4 separate regions of the Homo sapiens genome follow, and all the other regions are linked to region 3. The links are contacts of gene promoters, found by promoter capture Hi-C in human tissues and cell types (Jung and others, 2019). All regions are on one chromosome and are shown on one strand. Each heading gives the region's core, a stretch centred on a gene start or on the middle of the fragment in contact. The rest is flanking DNA. Distances are from core to core; before and after follow the strand shown.

Region 1 (4,684 bases), core at 1,053-3,552, 710 kb after region 3:
CACTGTAATATGTAAATATATGCTACTGCCCTAAAGAAAAAAAAGAATGCAAAATGTTCTGAGTAGCTACGCTATGCCCACTGCATTCAATCAGAAATGGTCCTGAAGTTTTTGTTTTCAAGCAAACTTGGCTGAAGTCTAGATCATTTTATAGTGGAATCACAAAGCAATTTGTTTTTCCTCTCACAAAGCAATTTGTTTTTCCTCTCTGAGGTGAAAATATAAAGCCTCCTGTTACTTATGCCATGACATCTAAAAAGCAGATGATATTATACATTTTCATTGTCGTCAAGAGTCTACGTTTTTGTTCCTTTCTAGCAGATTATTTAATTACTCTGCCAAAGGATGCTCATAATGTCATGTTTGCAAAACAGCTTTAAATGCTTTCAAATACTTCCAAGATTAAAATAACTGCTGAGTTATTTTGCTTTCTGTGGACAGTTCAATTTCATCTCTGAATATACTCTTTTTCTGATGGATTTATAACTACTACACAATAGTAGCCATCCATAAAGAACAATATAATAGGTACTAAGAATCTAGCACTCACAGTTGTTCTGTTTTTGGCATTTGTGGCTTATGAGAGCCTCTGCTATTCCTTTCAAGTGAATCTGCTTTCATGCAGCATTTACTTCTTGACAGTTCACATAATTTAGTCAACACTCCTTAATTTTTTCCCCTTTGATCCATGACTATGTGTAAACCAACCAAACAAAAAACTATAAAACTCTAAACATAGTGAATTTCTCCTGTTTTTCCTCCCTTCTCCTTCTAGTTGGTTATTTACATCACTAGTGACATACTATAATAAATTGCCATCACCATCCCCTTCCTCACTGTGGATCAAAGCCTTGGAGTGCTTGATGAAAATTTATTAGACCTCTGCCCACTGATTCCCACCTGGCTGCTCACAGCACCCTTGGCCAGCATTGCCTTGAGCTGGCTGGAGACGGACACTCTGATGACTAACAGCTGGGTGTCTCAGACAAGCCGTCTCTACCTCCAGCATCCACGGGCTAACTCTGCTTGCTTTCCTACTTCTCTTTTCTTATCTTACACTTAGGTCTTTTGGTCAATTCATGGCAGAGGCTGCCAAGGATGTCAAAAACAAGACGTGGGGGCAAAGGGGTGGGTGTGGCCTGCAGATGGTCTATGTGCCATACCAGGCCACTGGACGGTGCTGCTGGGCTGGTGATATTCGGGTCACTGATGTGGGGTAGCCAGCCACTGAGAGGTCCTGGGGAGCCTGAAAATCACAGGCTGGGCAGAGAGAAACACTCTGAGGGGCTTTACTGTGGGAGATTTACAAGACCCAGGGGTGTTTACATCTGTGCTCAGTTTCAAGCATTTTCCCGACTGCTTCATGCCACGGTGCTCCAGCTTATCATTGCAAACACAGCCAAATAAAAACTACATGTGGCATTTGGTAAAATTTATACAGAGGGGCAGCTGTTGTATCCTGCCTCACCTGAGGCTCATCTAATCAAACAAATCTGGCAATAAGGATGAGAGACTGTAAAGTCCAAATGAAGCATTATTTTTTTTCTGCATCCCCTTTCCCACTGTGCCACAATGCCTATGGAAAATGAGACCAAATCAAAACCTTGTAAGAGTCTGTAATTACCCTGACAGCAATGACTTATCATTTGTACACCCCTGTATTTTCTGTCCCTTCTTCTGAAGACTCACTTCAGGCATGCGGGAGCACTTACAGCCAAGATGTCAGGAACAGAAACACAGTAACCATCTGAATATTGATTGTATACAATCTTTATATTGACTGTATATTGACCACCTGTATTGATAACCTACAAGGGTTTGCAGATAGATTGCTAGATCATGTTTTTGGTGATTAAAAAGAGAATGGGGGCTCCTGGATGTAAAATACCATACTTGAAGGTAGTGGTCAAGTTTTGGAATTTTTTCACTTGCTTCATTCTACATTTGTGCAGCGTTCTACCCTATGTCAGTGATTAGAAAACTGGGCAATTAACTTCACGGATTTCTACCTGCCCTTAGAAGACATCCATTTTCTGAACACCCAGGAAGTCCTGATATATGCTAAAATGTGCACCCACAAACTCACAAGGCTGCATAAGAGGCCAAATTCAGCAGGCCCTGCTGTCAGCCACACCCTCATCCCACAACAGCTGCTCTCATCAGTTACACCCTTTGCATCCTTGTCTAGATGTTATTTTCTGGACTCCTCCAATTCCATAGTCACTCAGATAAATTCTGTAGAACAATAATACTGACATCTGGATTTTGGGAGGCCAGGGAGAGTTGAGGAGAGAGAAAGGGATGAGCTGAGAAGGGAAGGATTTGCGATGCAAGGCAACTGTCAACACAACAATTCTGGCTGATCATGCTGTTCCTTGGGCTCCCCGTTTGACCTCCACCAGCCTTTCTATTGTCGTGCCCTCCTGTCATTCCCCAGTGTTTTCTTTTCCTTTTGGTAGTGGAGGTCCCCACACTGTCAGCCTTTAGAGTGCATGTGTAGTTCCAGGACCCAAACTACAAGCAGGGAAGTGTTGCCATGCTCATGCATGATGCTGACCTTCTCCCTGTGGGTCTGAGCCACAAAGTGTGCTCTTGTGGTTATTTAAAAGTCTGCCTCCGGCCAGGTGGATCATGTGAGGTCAGGAGTTTGAGACCAGCCTGGCCAACATGGTGAAACCCTGTCTCTACTAAAAATACAAAAATTAGCCAGGCGTGGTGGCACATGCCTGTAATCCCAGCTACTCGGGAGTCTGAGGCATAAGAATTGCTTGAACCCAGGACAGAGAGGTTGCAATGAGCCGAAATTGTGCCATTGCACTCTACCCCAGGCAACGGAGCAAGACTAGCAAGACTCTGTCTCAAAAACTAAATATATAAATAAAATAAAATTAACAGTCTGCCTCCTAGACAATGCCAATCGTTAAAAAGCTGCCTCTCACAGCTCTGCTAGCCTCATGAATGTATGTCAGGAGTCTCAAGTTTACCCCTCAGACACAGGTCAAAATTATCTCTCCACTGTCTCCCAATCCCCAACTTAGGAACTTCCCAGGATTCCTGACTTTTACTAGACACTCAGCTTCAGACCTAAATTAGAGAGATAACTTACCTGCTTTTCACGATACTTTTGATACAATCTCATTCCACCTTCCACTCCTCTTTGTGAAACATTGGCATCATTGAGCTTTGCACCGGTTAACATTTTCAAGGTTCAAGACTTTGTAGTATCATCATGAGCATGTCAAATGAGACTATGTATATCAAAATATTTTGTAATCTGTTAAGTAATATAGAAGTGGTTAGATCAGCCAGATACCAGAGCATTAAGACTCTCTGCAGAGTTGTTGAGGCTATACAGTCTGATGTCAGAGCAGGAGTCTCAGCTGACACCCTGAGCAGTTGACAGCGAATCACTTGAGGGACTAAATATGCAAAGCTGCTTCAAGCTCCAGGTGGCCCAGTGCCCATAGGCACGTTTGGATCCATTGCCTTGGAATGCCATCCCTCCCAAGAGGGATTGGGATCATCCAGTAGCCCTATCTAGTTGAAAAGATCTACAGAAGACTACCAATGAAAAGCCACTATCACACCCACACCCACGGGACCTTTGAGTAGGTCTAGGTAGGCGTACACTTTACCAAAAACCAGGATTTTTATGACACTAACCCTAATGATCTTCAACCTATAATAACTGAAGAACCAAATGTCAAACACAGGTCTGGTACTTATGAAACCATTCTAACTTTGAACCAAACTTGGTTAACAAAACTTCAATTCTGTATTGTCCAAGGGACCTACAGAGTGTCCACTATGTGCCATGAGCTTGATATTTAGCCAAGTACATTGCCTGCATTGTACTACATAAGACTACATCGAGTAGTTGGTCACAGCATTCATAAGCTAATGGCTACCTCAAGGCCAAACATAGGACACAAAATAATTACAAATCAGTGCAATAGGCTTCTGTTAGAAATGAACAGATGGCTCGAACAACCTGAATTTCAATGACAAAAAAGGCACAACTCCTGCATACAAGATAATTTCGTCTTTCTCTTCTAATTTTCTGCAAATACAAAATGAAGCAACTACATTTTCCATTTTAAATGATATTTAAATAAATGTTGGTATGAGTTCCATGGAATTTTGCCCATTCTTTTAGGATGGTGAACCCACGTAACCCAGCTTTAATTACTTCTATTCCCCATCTTACTGAAGAGGCTTAGCTCAGTGCCTGGCCCATAGTAAGGACTCAATAAAAGGTTGTTATAATTAAGCTTATCACTCCTATTTAAATATGCTGTTCAATTTTCATCTGGGTGTGCTAACTTCCCTGTAGGAATGCTACTCTGGCTCACATACATCTAGAACCCCTCTAGATGTGTAATGGTCTTTACCCTGGCATTGCTTGATGCATTAGCCCTGCTAAGCCAAAAGAACAGTACTATTACCTTAAGAAATTGTATAGGTCTCTATTTAATAATGCAATTTTTTTGCCAGGTTCTAAGGCATTTGCTGCCACAGTGTACATGAATAAAAAGGAAAAGCATGCATTTTAGACATCAAAGCATAAGCCTTATGGTTACTTTTCTGAAATGGTCATCTTTCCTGGGCGACCAGATTTGTTTTTATAGCTTCAAGAATCCAGGTGTGTCCAGTTTTGTAAAATGAATTAGTTCATTCAGCAAAC
Region 2 (4,773 bases), core at 1,829-4,328, 550 kb after region 3:
ATCCTTATAGCAATATGTAGGCACATTTATAATCCGTAGAATAAGTTCTTTCAAGTGGAATTACTGGGTCAATGAGTATTTAAATTTTGATAGTTATTTTCAAATTACCTTTCAAAAAAATGTTCTATTGATTTTTTTATTCCCACCAAGAGTATATGAGATATGTATTGTTTGTAATGTCTGCACAGACTTTGATTATATAGAGGTAGTATATCATAGTTTATCATAAATTCTCATGTTGGTAGACATTTTAGGTTCTTAATGATTTTTCATTATTTTAGTATTTTATTGAATCCTTGTAAAGCTAAACCTATGTCTATACCCTTTGATAATTTTCTTGGAAACTTATGGAAATAAAATTGCTAGATCAAAAGCTGTGAGAATTTTTAAGGTGCTGATGAATGTTGTAAATATCTGATGAGAAAAGATGCCAGTTACAGTTTATATAAGCCCACCTGTTTGTGAATGTGCCAGTTGCCCTAAACCCATGCAAATATTGGAATGTTACTGTTTTTTTGATCTTTGTTAGTTTGAAAGGTGAATGGCATTTGTTTTAACTTATTTGTTTGATTGTTGGTGAGTTGAATTTTTTTACTGCATAATCGCATTTATTTCTTTAGAAAATTTTGTATGTTCATGACTTTTGACTTTTGTTTTGTTTCTCCTTATTGACTAGAAAAGTTATTTATATCAAGTATTATTATACCTTTCTTGAATATATTACATATAATTTTCTTCTAGTTCTTTTTCTTCTCCTTTGACATATAGAAGTTGGCGATCTTTTTATAGGTAGATCTATTAGTGTGATGCCTCCGAAGATTTTGTCCATGCCAACACTGCATAAAATCATCATTTACATTTCCTTCTAAGGGGCTAACAGTTTAGAAACCAATATTGGGTTGCATTTTTTTCCTGATTTTACATTATTTTTAGTACAGAGATTAAAAACAGGAAGTTGAATAAACTAAATTTATTGTGTTTATAATGTTTAAATGTTATAATGTTTAAACATTAATATTAAAGGAAATAATTTCACCATGGCAATTTTAGCTTTTTAAAGATACTTTTAGGTTTGTCAAGCAGTATGAATTACTTTTCATTTTCCCAATGCCTCGTCTTTACTATTTGTATATCAATATTTTGTTTTTAGAACTAAGGCCTAAATCTGTTCTGTGTTTTTATAATGATATGAAATAGATTTATATTATATTGGATGTCTCTTGGGGTAGAAAGTAGGAAACATCTTTTAACCAAAATTTTTGGTGTTACAAAGAAGCTTTCGGAATGATTTTTACTGGTAGTCATACAAAATGAGGGTCAGTATTTCTAGCTGAAGAGATTCTGGGGGATGGGATCTTTTGTTTGAGCCTCAGTTTGGGCAGGTCCTTAAGCACTGGGTATGTTGCCTGACTCGCTGTACTTTAGCTTCCTTGTGTATAAAGTAGTAGCAGTGAAACCAAGTACATAGGGTTGTTATAGAGGGAACCTAAAACAAAGTTACTTCTTAAGTTTTTTGTAGGCATATACTCTGTAAGTCATGAGTAGAAAAACCAATATCTAAAATTTTGGCCCTGTTGAAATATGTGCGAAAATTGTTTCTGCTTCTGTTTTTTACTTGAGTGGTTGAATTACAAATATATTTATCTGCTTTCTTCAGGAAGATACTTGTTTTTTAAAGGAGCAACTTCGTAAAGCAGAGGAACAGGTTCAGGCAACTCGGCAAGAAGTTGTCTTTCTGGCTAAAGAACTCAGTGATGCTGTCAACGTACGAGACAGAACGATGGCAGACCTGCATACTGCACGCTTGGAAAACGAGAAAGTGAAAAAGCAGTTAGCTGATGCAGTGGCAGAACTTAAACTAAATGCTATGAAAAAAGATCAGGTAAAACAAGTTAATTTTGAATTTGCATTTTGATTTAAGAAACCACTATAATCTCACAAAGTAGTAAATTGTGTTAAGATAAGACAGGTCAGATTTCTGCCTTATTTTAAATTTAAAATTTTCATTCCTTTTGTTTAGTCATTGTGACTTCTTGGCTTACAGTTAATGTGTGCTGTAAGGAAAACTTCTGTAAGCAGAATTCTTAATGGTTGGTGAAAGCTGCCCTATTGATTAAATATATTGATGTCAGATATGTATTGTTTTGTTTGGAATTTCTTACTAGCTGTATAAAACAGTATTATGGTTGTTTAAGGGAGTAATAATTGCTCTTCAGGAGGTGGATTATTTTTCTCTAGTTTTTTAAATGAACCTTAGTCCTAAGAATGTAAAACTGGACTTAACAAGAGACCCTATGTTGCTCTGTAGCCAAAATCCCAAAATAAAAAAGTGGCCGGGGACAGTTGCTCACACCTATAACCTCAGCACTTTGGGGGGCTGAGGTGGGAAGATCGCTTGATCCCAGGAATTCAAGACCAGCCCGGGCAACATAGTGAGACCTCATCTCTACAAAAATTTTCAAAAATTACCCAGGTGTGGTGGTGTGCAGCTGTAGTCCCAGCTAGTCCAAAGGCTGAGACAAGAGGATTGCTTGAGCCAGGAGGTCAAGGCTGCAGTGAGCCATAATTGGGCCACTGTGTTTCAGCCTGGGTGACAGAGCAAGACTCTGTCTCAAAAACAAAAAAAAGAAAAAAAGTAAGATTGAAGTTGGGGTTACTATTAACATTAGGAGGTATCAGATTTTTATTTTTTTCTTCAAATGTTTGTTTCTTTCTAGGACAAGACTGATACACTGGAACACGAACTAAGAAGAGAAGTTGAAGATCTGAAACTCCGTCTTCAGATGGCTGCAGACCATTATAAAGAAAAATTTAAGGAATGCCAAAGGCTCCAAAAACAAATAAACAAACTTTCAGATCAATCAGTAAGTATCATTAAATTTACACATAGTAAAATGTGTTGTTAGTATTTTTGTTCGAAAATCAAATTTGTAATATTCCAAATATCAACCTTTTAAATATTATTTATCTCTGCTTGATTTCAAGTCATTGGCCAAATATTGTAATAACTCTTCTTTAAAAAAGTCTGGAATTTTAATTTACTGGACAGCCAACAAAGGAAGCAAGGGCAGTAGCAAGGAAAAAACAGAAAAAAGTCTTCTTTTCTAGATAATTTCCCTCTTAAGTTCTTGATAAATATCTGTCACTCAAAACTCAATACTTATTATTGACTCTTGTGACCATGACATCTATCCTCATTGGAGTTCACCATTAATCATCCCTAGGTCTTAGATGGTGTCTCAGTTGTAATTGGCAAGTTCTTCATACTCATATTATGAAGATTCCTATTCCTATTAGATTAGGAACAGTTAAAGAGTGTTAGCTAATTCTTTTTTATTCCATTTGAGAATAGGTAGGTAGATTTGTAATATACCAAAGAAGATGTTTTTGTTTTGAGGTATGTATGTTTCAATGTGGGTCCTTAAACTGTGCTTAAATACAAGGCTTACTATCTGAGGAACTCCTGGAAATGTAGAAGAAACATATTTAAAACCTGAAATTGAAAGTGGTACTATAGCTCTCTTTTACTATGTGATGCATATGATACTTTCCTGGTCCTACTTTTTTAAATCAGAGGAGACAAGCAAGGAATGCATGTAGTAAAGTAGGAAGGCTTTTGTGAAAAAATATGATACTTTAAGTATGACTCACTCACATGTATGAATTTGGCCTGGGGCCTTTTGAGTACGTTATAACTTTGTAGTAGATTTCTGTGAATGACTTATTTTGGTGGTCTTTTGATGAGTTTATAAGAAAAAGCAAAATATAGTATATTTCTTTTGCAACATTTAGGTCAGTTAGCAAAATGATGTGTATAACTTTAGTCTTTGTTGGCTTTTAAAACAAGAGCAGCTTTGTGGACTTCTTAGGATTTCCTAAAGTAATATGTAAAAATATTATTTACTTAGTTACTGCAAGGAGGAAATATAACTAATTCATTGACTCATTTAACAACTTATTAACATTTTGAATAGGCTAATAATAATAATGTCTTCACAAAGAAAACGGGGAATCAGCAGAAAGTGAATGATGCTTCAGTAAACACAGACCCAGCCACTTCTGCCTCTACTGTAGATGTAAAGCCATCACCTTCTGCAGGTAAAAATCTTTTAGACTTTTTGTGTAGGGTGTCCTACATTGAAAAGTACTTATACTGCCTTCTTCCATGTGTTAGAATTTCAGGATGTTCATAAAAATTTTCATGTGATAAGTGAAGGAATTGAGGCAACAAGAAAATAAGGGTATAAATGTAAAATAGAGTCATGCAAGTGGTGAATATACACAACATGAACATATAAAATGTGAATGTAAACTAGTAGTTATCTTCTTGAGACTATTCACACATGTTAAAAATGAGCTGGTGCTTGTGAGTACTCATTTGGGCTACATAGGACAAAAGCCACGAATTGAATTTTTACTTTATGTTCCATTAAATCTATGGAATTTTGAAGCATTTTATTTGTGGATTTTAATTTTTAAATTCTGCAGGGGAAAAAATCCCCTATTATTCTCATATTTTTCTATTTATTCATTTATTTTTGGCTGCTTTGGATCAATGGGGGTACTTCTTCCCTTGTCAATGTACCTGTTGGCTGATGAGTTAAGTTTTTATTAGTTTATTAACTTATAGAACAGAATAGAGAGACATAGTGAGAACATTAATAACATGAAAACTTGGATTAACTAGGTTTTCATCTGTCCTGATTTTTTCACTTTTATGTAAATTTGACAGTAATGACGTTAAATACTAGAGAAAGTATATTTTCTTGTTTA
Region 3 (4,753 bases), core at 96-2,595:
GAGGAGCCAAGAGAGGCCTATGGCAGCTTCCAGATATTAAGTTCCACAACCCCTGCCCCCACCTCCAGCCCTTCATCAGAGTCCCTACTTACTTGCTGTTTTAGGGCATTTTCAGCGACTTCACTCTCTTCTACCTCAAACGCCATCCACTTTTGGAGACAGGTACCACTGCCCCTAGGCAGGGACTTGGGAGAGGACCTTATGAGTCAAACCTCTATGAACCCCAACCTTTTTGTACTCGGGGAGGCTGAACCCCTGCCCAAAATAGCGCGGTGAAAGCTACTGCCTTCTCCCAAGTAGGGGCCTCCAGTACTGCCACAGCAGGGGCCGCATTCCTGGCGCCTCTTCATTCGAAAAACCTCTTTCCAGGAGACTTCGCTGATTCTGAACGAATACTTTAAAATATGGGCAAGGGAAAAAAAAAGACAACTCTTAGAAACTCTCCCCACCCAACATACCTGGAGTGCAGGCGAGGTCCAGGCAAACGGGAAAGCGACTTCTTGTACGAATAGCCATCTCAAGATGAAGCCAGGCTGTGGAAAACTTAAGGCCATCTAGATGGGAAGGAGGTATTTAAAAGAAATCAGCACACACTCTTACAGAAGCCAAGGCGGGTCTTTAAATTAAAAAATAATAATAAGGTATTTATTTCTTGCCCCTTAGGGAAGAAAAATAGCAAAGTTTGGTTCGCAGGAGTAAGGAGACAGAGGTGGGTAGGGAGAGGGAGGAGAAAAGAGGAAAAGATGGCCCAGCCTCAAGCTCTCCAGTCAACTTGGGGCGGGGGAATACATTTTTCCGTAGCTTGTAAAAAGACTTTTCAGCCAGTTTGAGGTTAGCTGCCAGGGGCAGACAGTTGTAATAATGCCGACAGAATTGAGGCTTGTAAGCCGGGCTTCACACTTCTAAAATGCAGTTATGGATTCTTTCATCGGTGTTAGATCAAGGCACCAAGTTAAGAAAACAAAAGTCAAAACAACAATAAAAGAAAAAATCAAAAGCTTATTTAATTACCGAGTCCCGCTGCCCCTGCGGAACTCGCCGCGCGCGTTAAGCTCTCTTTTCTTTCTGCGGAATTCCATTTGCATCCCCTCTGCCTGGGTGTCTCCCTCTCTCAGTGTGTGTGTCTCTCTGTCTGTTTTCACACTCTCCTCCCCAATCGAGCGAGGCCCACACCTGGCGCATCACTGCCGAGCCATTAGCTGCGGGTTTCCTTTCATCTTCGCTGTGGCAGACGTTTCTATTTATCCACTTGCGCTCGCCGAGTGGCGTCACCAGCGGTACTGTAATGACGATTGCAGCAGGAGGATGACAGCTTAGAAAGAAGAGGGCAATGGGGCTTCCTCCCAGAGGCGGTGCGGCACAGAGGAGCGCTCGCTTCACAAGGTGACCCTAGCTCCCACCGCCACCGCCGCGGTCGCGGTCCAGACCGCGCTCCAGCAGCTCCGCGCCCTCCCAGGCACCCGGCCTTTCTTTCTCCCTCTTGCAACCAAGATCCGTCCGGCCGCTGGAGACCCAGGGAGCCGGGGTTAGGAACTCACTTGGGGCTTTCCCCTCCCCCACCGGAGAGCCCCGGGATGGAGAGCCGAAAGGACATGGTTGTGTTTCTGGATGGGGGTCAGCTTGGCACTCTGGTTGGCAAGAGAGTCTCAAATTTGTCCGAAGCCGTGGGCAGCCCGCTGCCGGAGCCGCCCGAGAAAATGGTGCCCCGTGGTTGCCTGAGCCCTCGGGCCGTCCCTCCGGCCACCCGGGAGCGCGGCGGGGGAGGCCCGGAGGAGGAGCCGGTAGATGGACTCGCAGGCAGCGCGGCGGGGCCGGGCGCCGAGCCCCAGGTAGCTGGGGCGGCCATGCTCGGCCCAGGACCCCCGGCCCCCTCAGTCGACAGCCTCTCCGGACAGGGGCAACCCAGTAGCTCGGACACCGAGTCGGATTTCTATGAAGAAATCGAGGTGAGCTGCACCCCGGACTGCGCCACCGGGAACGCCGAGTACCAGCACAGCAAAGGTAGCCACCGTGCCCCTCCGCTCCCCGGGCCTCCCACTGCGCCCACCCTTCACTTCGGCGCAGGCCAGGAGGAAGACACTCCCTTCCCCTAGGGCAGGATGGCTGGGGGGACCCACCTGAGCAACTCTCTCTGCTATCTGCGTTCTGGCGGGGGTCTCCTACTGTGTTCTGGCATTGGCGGGACTGAGGGTGACAGCAGTGCCTTGAGTGCGGGGTGCTGAGGGGGCGGATGCAAGTCCTGGACTTGGGGGATTCGAAGCTCACCCCAAGCACCCAGTGTTTCAACTGCTCGGGGAATGCTTCAATTGCTCGGGGAAGACACTTTCCCCAGGCGAGGGCAAGATCAAACGCCGATCCGGGCAGTTTGTGGCTGGCAGGGTGTAAGAGGCATGGAGGCGCGGAAGCCAGGAGTCCATAAAGGACCGTAAAATTGCGGCCCACTTGGGCAGCCCGGGTGCTGCAGCCCTCCGACCAGTTTGCACGTCGGTCAGAGGTCCAAATTACCTTGTCACTTCCCGGGCTTCGCGGCGCCAGGTCGGAAATGGTCCCAATGGTCTAATTGCCTTTGGTCTCCGGTTGCATTTGAAAAGGCAGAGATCGGGTCCTCCCCCCTTCCCCTTTCCTTCCTAGTCCCACTTCTCCACCCAAAGGAAAAGGAGCTGCAGGGGGCTGGAGCCCCACCCTTCTCAGAGGTAGGCCCAAAGGGGGGCTGGTTTAACTGGAGAACCCCTCCCCACCAAAGGCTAATGGGAAAGGGGTGGATAGCCCGGAAGGGAGTTTCCCTCTGTGCCAACAATCACCTCCCCAGAAGGGGGTAGAAAACTGGGCGCGGGTTGGTGGGGGGGAGGAGAGGGGAGCCCACCAGCAGACACTCCTCCACAGAACTGTAGGAGTGGGTGGAAAGAGCCTGGGGGCGGGGGGGAGAAAGACCACCCCCTGGTCTTGGCAGCCAACGCCTTGTTGAATACCTGCACCTACCCCTTACTATCTTATCACCGATTTCACCCAGCCTCCTTCCCATAACCCTCAGAACAACCTGGACTCCACTCACATATACTAAGGTAATAAATAAGATACTCAACATGCATTCTCACTCCAGCCCTGCAATACACGGAACCTAGTACACATTCCCACACCTGTTCTGGCAGCCCGTCACACATAAGAGCAAGGAAACTCTCTGAATGCCCAGCATACTACAATGCACTTGACCCAGAGTTTACAACCCTCTAGCACAAAGGTGCATCTCAACTCATGTGCCTGTCAGAAGTGCACGCCCTGCCAACGGGAGGCAGAAATCTCACCTATGCTCCAGGGCAGGTGGGAAGGGCGGCTGGGAACCCCTGTACCCAGGATGCCTTAGAGGAAGGGAAGGCCTCCCCAAAGACCTCTACCTACCCAATCAAGGGCAGGCCCTTATTTTCCCTTCTTGGGTTCCCCAGAGGCCGCAGTACCCTAGCAGAAACAGTTACTGAGGTGGCTGACAGGGTGTCCCTTCCCAAATCACCCTCCCACCTTAGGCCTACAGCCCCACTTCAATGGCGTTTGTGTGTCTGTGTCTGTACACGCCTGTGCTCTGGACTCGCTGTGCAGGGTCCGGCTCCGAGGCGCTGGTCGGCAGTCCGAACGGAGGGAGCGAGACCCCCAAGAGCAACGGCGGCAGTGGTGGGGGCGGCTCGCAAGGCACCCTGGCGTGCAGCGCCAGTGACCAGATGCGTCGTTACCGCACCGCCTTCACCCGAGAGCAGATTGCGCGGCTGGAGAAGGAATTCTACCGGGAGAACTACGTATCCAGGCCGCGGAGATGTGAGCTGGCGGCCGCCCTAAACCTGCCGGAAACCACCATCAAGGTATGCGGGGTCCAGGCTGGGGAGGCGGGTGTGCACCTATTTAGCGGGAAGTAAATGCCAACTGCCAACTCCCTGAAACGCAGGCCAGGAATCTGGGCCTGGGGTCTCCCTGCCCGGCGCGTGCAGATTGACCCTCGTGACAGCTCCTAGGCAGGCATTGCTGCCATGTGGCTGACTCTGTCCCTTTCCTGGTTAAATAGACAAGGGGTGGGCGTGGGGGAAGGGGATAGAGTGCCTGTGCGGGTGACAAGGAAGTTTCTGGGGACACGCTCTCTGCGGCCGCAGACCAATTGAGTCCATGTCCTTTCACTGCTCCTCCCATACACACACTGGCCTCTGGCACCCCGGGGGCCTGGCCACCTGGGCAGAAGGAAGGAGGGAGCGGGCTGGAGTCACTCCCCAAACCTCTCTCGGAGGGATTCCAGCTCCAGGTGGTGGTGGTGGGGTCGGTCTCTACCCGGCTGGTGTCTGCTTTGGCTGTTCCTGCCCTGCGAACACTGTCCCCGGAGCGGGACCAGACTACTGGCCTCTGAGCATCGGGCCAAGTCCAGCTACTGAACCTGCTCCGCTCCTCTCCCCAGGTGTGGTTCCAGAACCGGCGCATGAAGGACAAGCGGCAGCGCCTGGCCATGACGTGGCCGCACCCGGCGGACCCCGCCTTCTACACTTACATGATGAGCCATGCGGCGGCCGCGGGCGGCCTGCCCTACCCCTTCCCATCGCACCTGCCCCTGCCCTACTACTCGCCGGTGGGCCTGGGCGCCGCATCCGCCGCCTCCGCCGCCGCCTCGCCCTTCAGCGGCTCGCTGCGCCCGCTCGACACGTTCCGCGTGCTGTCGCAGCCCTACCCGCGGCCCGAACTGCTGTGCGCCTTCCGCCACCCGCCGCTCTACCCCGGGCCCGCG
Region 4 (4,692 bases), core at 1,367-3,866, 660 kb after region 3:
CAGCACCAGGAAAAAAAACCCACTCCATTTGATCAGATCAGTTTGGCACTTAACTTGTAAGAGGTATTTTTTGTGATTTTTCACTTGACCTTTACAATGGTTGTGGATATAATCTGAGTAGTACACAGCTAATGAAATAGATTGTGTTCTTGGGTACCAAACTAAAACTGACAGACTTACTGCATTAAGAGAGACGTTATTTTCTCTCTCCTTTTCTTTTTAAGACAGGGTCTCACTCTGTCAACCAGGCTGGGGTGCAGTGGTGCCATCACGGCTCATTGCAGCCTTGACCTCCTGGGCTCAAGTGATCCTCTTGCTTCAGCCTCCCAAGTAGCTGGGACTACAGGGATGCACTTCCAAACCCAGCTAATTTTTGTATTTTTTGTAGAGCACCACATCCAAGGCTAAATTTTTGTAGAGGCAGGATCCCACTCTGCTGCCCAGGCTTGTCTCTATCTCCTGGGCTCAAGCAGTCTCGTTGCCTTGGCCTCCCAAAGTGCTAGGATTACAGGCATGAGCTACCCACGCCTGGCCTGTTTTTCTAAGTTTTCTAAGTTTATATATGACATATATGGAAGGATATAGTTCCCGGTCTTTGGAGAATTCTAATCTAATTTTGCATAAAATAAATAAATATGAGGGCAAGCCAATTTCATACCAAACCTTGTAGCTTATTTTGCTTCTAGATGTTCATTTCTTTCTTTCTTTTTTTTTTTTGTGGGGGAGAGGGAAGAAGAAAAGGTGGGGTAAGGATAAAAAAAGATAAAAGGTGATCTTTCCTTCATCTACTGTCTTGACAATCATATTTTATTTATTTTTCTTTTTATTTTTTATTTTTTTTCTTATTTTTATTTTCTTTTTTAAAGGCAGCTACAGTAAATTTATATTCTCTTTGGTATATTATAGTTTGGATATTCCATACCTTTTTTAGTATTTAAATAACATTGGGTTGCCAATTTTTATATTGCCATGTATACCTTATCTAACTACCATCTATCATCACCAGCCTCTAATTAAAAAGGAAAAACTACTTTAACATAAAATATAGGAAGAGCATAATCTTGGAATAAATCCTTTCTTGAGAAAGGCTTTCTTGAGAAAGATTCTTCTTTATTCTGAGATTATGATAACAGAACATAGGAAAAATCTACTTAAACTGTTTTGATGAAGAAAAGCCACAATATAAAATTTCATGTTATCATTACTTTATACTTGCATCACATATATATAGTATTATTTATAACATACTGTTTACAATTATTCTCTAGATGCAAATTTTTAAAAATATCTAAATGTGTTTTCTATTATTATCATTGCGAAAAATTCAGTTGCAAGGAATGCTGACCAAACAGAACTCTTAAATTTAGGTGGAATTGCTTGAAATATGCTAAGCAAACGAAAGAAGGCAAATACAAGGGCACTCAAATCCAGTAGCTTCTCCTTTCCAAGAGCTGGGAGGTGGTGAGCAAGAGCTGAGTGTCCTCTCACAGCTGGACACACAGAGGGGTGGTGAGGTGCTGGATGCCCCCGTTCCCTGGCCCCACATGCCCCAGGCAGACACTGCAGACCAGTGGAAACGTCCTCATGAACAGCAGCAGACTAGCAGCTGTGGTGTGGATAGCACTTAAGAACCACTTTTTTAAACCAGTAGTATCTTTTCCTAAATTTTGGCACTCAAATGAAATCCAGGCACCAAAGCTGAGCCATTGAAATAACAAAATCCCATTCCTGAATACTATGTCTTTGTATGTTCCCAACAAATATTGTATATTTTCTTCACAACTATGGAATGATATAGTCAATCTACCTTAATGAAAGCTTGCTCAGGCTCTGGCAATCACTCTTTAAAGTCACAGGTCAGCATAAATTATCAGTGAAGCAATTAATTTTGATTTACTTTAGCCTGAATAAAATAAACCATGGTCTTTTCCGTCATTGATGCCAAGAATAAAAAACACTTCTGAAAGCTACCATACCACAAGTCTTTGGTTTGGAGACCAATGGAATATCTTTCTCTTGGCAACTCCCTATCCTCCTTTCCGTTCCTTTTCTACCCTCATTGAATTGCAAATAACTATGGCTATTTCTTACACATGGTTTTCATTGCTAATTTGACATCCACGTAAAGACTAATGAACAAAACAAAGAAGCTGCACTTTACAAGGTTTTGTGGTATAAAACTACAAATAGCTTTTCAGTTTTCTTGTTTTGCCTCCTCTAGAAGTAAATTAAATGAGTTATTGAGGTTTCACTGTAAGCTGCTAATGAGATGATGCGTAACTTTCCCCATAAACTAGAAGAAATTTAAAAACTGAAGAGAAAGTTGCACTAAGGCTCTTAGAGTTTTAAATCCAGTATTCAGCTGGGAACACAGCCTGGTGGGTGAAAAAATCTAGGTTCTGAAGGCAAACTCTTAATCTGAGTTAGTTGGTGTTCAAGCTTAGAAAATTAATGACTCCTTCTCATCTTGGGGTCCTCCTTATAAAACAGAGGTAATCCTAACACCTACCTCATGGGGTTTATTATCAACATCTCATTGGATAAATGCATGAAAAGCCCTTGGCTCCACATAATACTCAATATATGTTAGGAGACCACTCAGAGTTGTGGTATTTCCATGGGTGCTGGCCTTGTGCTCCTGACCCTTTCCCAGGAAGGAGAAATTGTTTATAAATTTAACTGCCATCTAGGAGAATTCTTACATAAGAGGTAATTTCTTGGGGGAACCTATGCAGTCCACAGTTGGGCTAAGATAGGTATCGAAGCCTGGGATTGGACATCTCCATTTCCAAAGAAAAGTGCTTCTCTGATGTTGCATGGCCTTATCCTTAGGTGAATTCTTCTGACAAGGTGGGGTGGGTGACCATCAACATCCAGCTAAGAACAAGGGACTCCCGGGGAATCTAGCACCAGGGGGTGAGGCACACTGGAGGTGTCCAGTTAATTAAACACTGGGTTGAGAAAGGGGAGGAGAAGCAAATGAGATGGTAGAAGATTCTCAATGTGAGAGGAGGTCTCAAATAGGTAGGGTTTTTCTATGCCAGAGATGGCACACACAGTGGCTCTCGTGCCACTTAAATGCACTCTGCCCAAGACGGCCACACGAATCGATTACAGCACTCTTGCCTGTGCTGCTTTGGGACTCAGCCTTACAGTTTTCTTCAGCACTGTGCCCTAGGTAGTCACTACAAACCAATGAAGGTGACATGTAAGCTGAAAGTCTGTGCCATCGTGGACTTACACATTTTCTTCTATATCTACTGAGATTTCCACTAATACCCTGGCCTGGGCATTTGGTACATACTTTATCCCTTCTCAGAAAATCAGAGAACAAAGCTGGCAGACTGTAATATCTGAGAGAGAAAGTTGAGTATGTCTAAGACAAGAGCTGTCCCCAAGCTAAAGCAAGAATATTAGTGACATATTCAGATAACAGCATCTATTCATGAAATGTAATTATGTATGGGCCAACTGCTCAAATTTATGGTGTATATGAGACTTGTTTATACACAGAATAGCAGTCAGCAAATTAGCATTGTTGAAAGATAGAGCAGAGTTTACAGCACTTTTTCTTAAATGAAGTACTAATAATAAGACAGTAAAACTATTTTGGGGGCAAAGCCAGTTTCCAGCATGGGCTGTTCTGTGACAAAGCATGTGCATGTGGGCATCTCAAGCTTACAGACCTCAAGTCTCATGGGTTTTGGGGGTTGATTTTTTTTCAAAGTGATTTTTTGCCTTTTGTTGCAAGAGTTCAGTTAAACTACTTCTGAACTTAAAAGCATTAAATAAAATTCATGGACGGTCACTGATTTGGACTAAGGTTCTGCACTAGGCCCCAACTGAGCAGACCAAACCAGAATGGAGTTGCTCAGGCTAAACTTTGAAATGGGCCAGTTTTCCAAAAAAACAGGACAGTCACAGCAACCAATCAGAAGGGGCCCAGTTTACCTAAGCTGGAAGTCCCCTGTAAGAACAACAAATGACTTTAAAAGAACCAATGCACTTTTTGTTCTGTTTCTGCTTTTCTCAGCCCTTTTCTGCCTATCAGGCCAACCTCATCTACTCAGCTCATTGGAACACACATTCTATTTTATAAAATGAGGTGTTGCCTGATTCGAGAATCACAAATAAAAATCAAGTGAAGTCTTTAAATTTGTTGTAATTTTGTCTATTGACAAGTTTAGTTTTCCCTGTTATCCAGGAGGCTGGCACCTGTTGAATATGTTCAGGTATTATTAGGTTATTCAGGTAAGTACACACTTGAATAATATTCATTCATTCATTCATTCATTCAGAGGCAGAATCTCGCTGTGCTGTCCAGAATGGAGTACAGTGGCGTGATCATAGGTAACTGCAGCCTCGACCTGCTGGGCTCAAGCAATCTTCCTGCCTCAGCCTCTTGAGTAGCTAGGACTATAGTTGCACACCACCAGGCCCTGCTAATTTTGAATAACCACCCAGGCCCTGCTAATTTTGAATAACCACTTTCTTTTTTTAATTGAAGAAATGTGAAGTTCCATGCCTCCTCTTCTGCCTACTGAAGGTTAACCCAATTAGTCTGAGTGCTAAATATACTTGGTAAACTGTGAACTGTGTGTAAATCTTGGGTATGGAAAGGACGCAGATGTTGATGATGGTGATAATTTAAACTTTTTATTAGGCATAATTTCAAAAAAAAAAAACCCACCA

Evidence for each region. Contacts are between HindIII fragments. The study calls those that stand out against the background at their distance.
Region 1: a contact is called between a fragment that was not itself captured here and the fragment with the promoter of EVX1 in region 3, in 4 of the 25 tissues and cell types used here (IMR-90 fibroblasts, lymphoblastoid cells, mesendoderm cells and 1 more).
Region 2: a fragment that was not itself captured here is called in contact with the fragment with the promoter of EVX1 in region 3 in 2 of the 25 tissues and cell types used here (mesenchymal stem cells and small bowel).
Region 4: a contact is called between a fragment that was not itself captured here and the fragment with the promoter of EVX1 in region 3, in 4 of the 25 tissues and cell types used here (heart left ventricle, mesendoderm cells, spleen and 1 more).

What each region holds. Positions count from the first base shown.
Region 1 is chr7:27,946,912-27,951,595 of GRCh38, forward strand. The region is part of intron 2 of JAZF1 (JAZF zinc finger 1); the gene reads right to left. Among named protein-coding and RNA genes, the nearest start is that of TAX1BP1-AS1, 210 kb to the left of the region's middle. The HindIII fragment of the contact is 6,016 bases long and covers 1-4,684 here.
Region 2 is chr7:27,790,349-27,795,121 of GRCh38, forward strand. TAX1BP1 (Tax1 binding protein 1) reads left to right here. Exons shown (of 17, transcript NM_006024.7): 9 at 1,658-1,882; 10 at 2,718-2,864; 11 at 3,975-4,098. Among named protein-coding and RNA genes, the nearest start is that of TAX1BP1-AS1, 52 kb to the left of the region's middle. The HindIII fragment of the contact is 7,368 bases long and covers 1-4,773 here.
Region 3 is chr7:27,241,457-27,246,209 of GRCh38, forward strand. EVX1 (even-skipped homeobox 1) reads left to right here and starts at 1,346. Exons shown (of 3, transcript NM_001989.5): 1 at 1,346-2,001; 2 at 3,592-3,848; 3 at 4,430-4,753. The coding sequence starts at 1,575. It overlaps EVX1-AS (EVX1 antisense RNA), which reads right to left. Exons shown (of 4, transcript NR_120507.1): 2 at 459-554; 3 at 93-185. RefSeq lists enhancers at 964-1,841, 3,763-4,371, 4,372-4,753. The HindIII fragment of the contact is 9,702 bases long and covers 1-4,753 here.
Region 4 is chr7:27,904,731-27,909,422 of GRCh38, forward strand. The region is part of intron 2 of JAZF1 (JAZF zinc finger 1); the gene reads right to left. Among named protein-coding and RNA genes, the nearest start is that of TAX1BP1-AS1, 170 kb to the left of the region's middle. The HindIII fragment of the contact is 3,503 bases long and covers 866-4,368 here.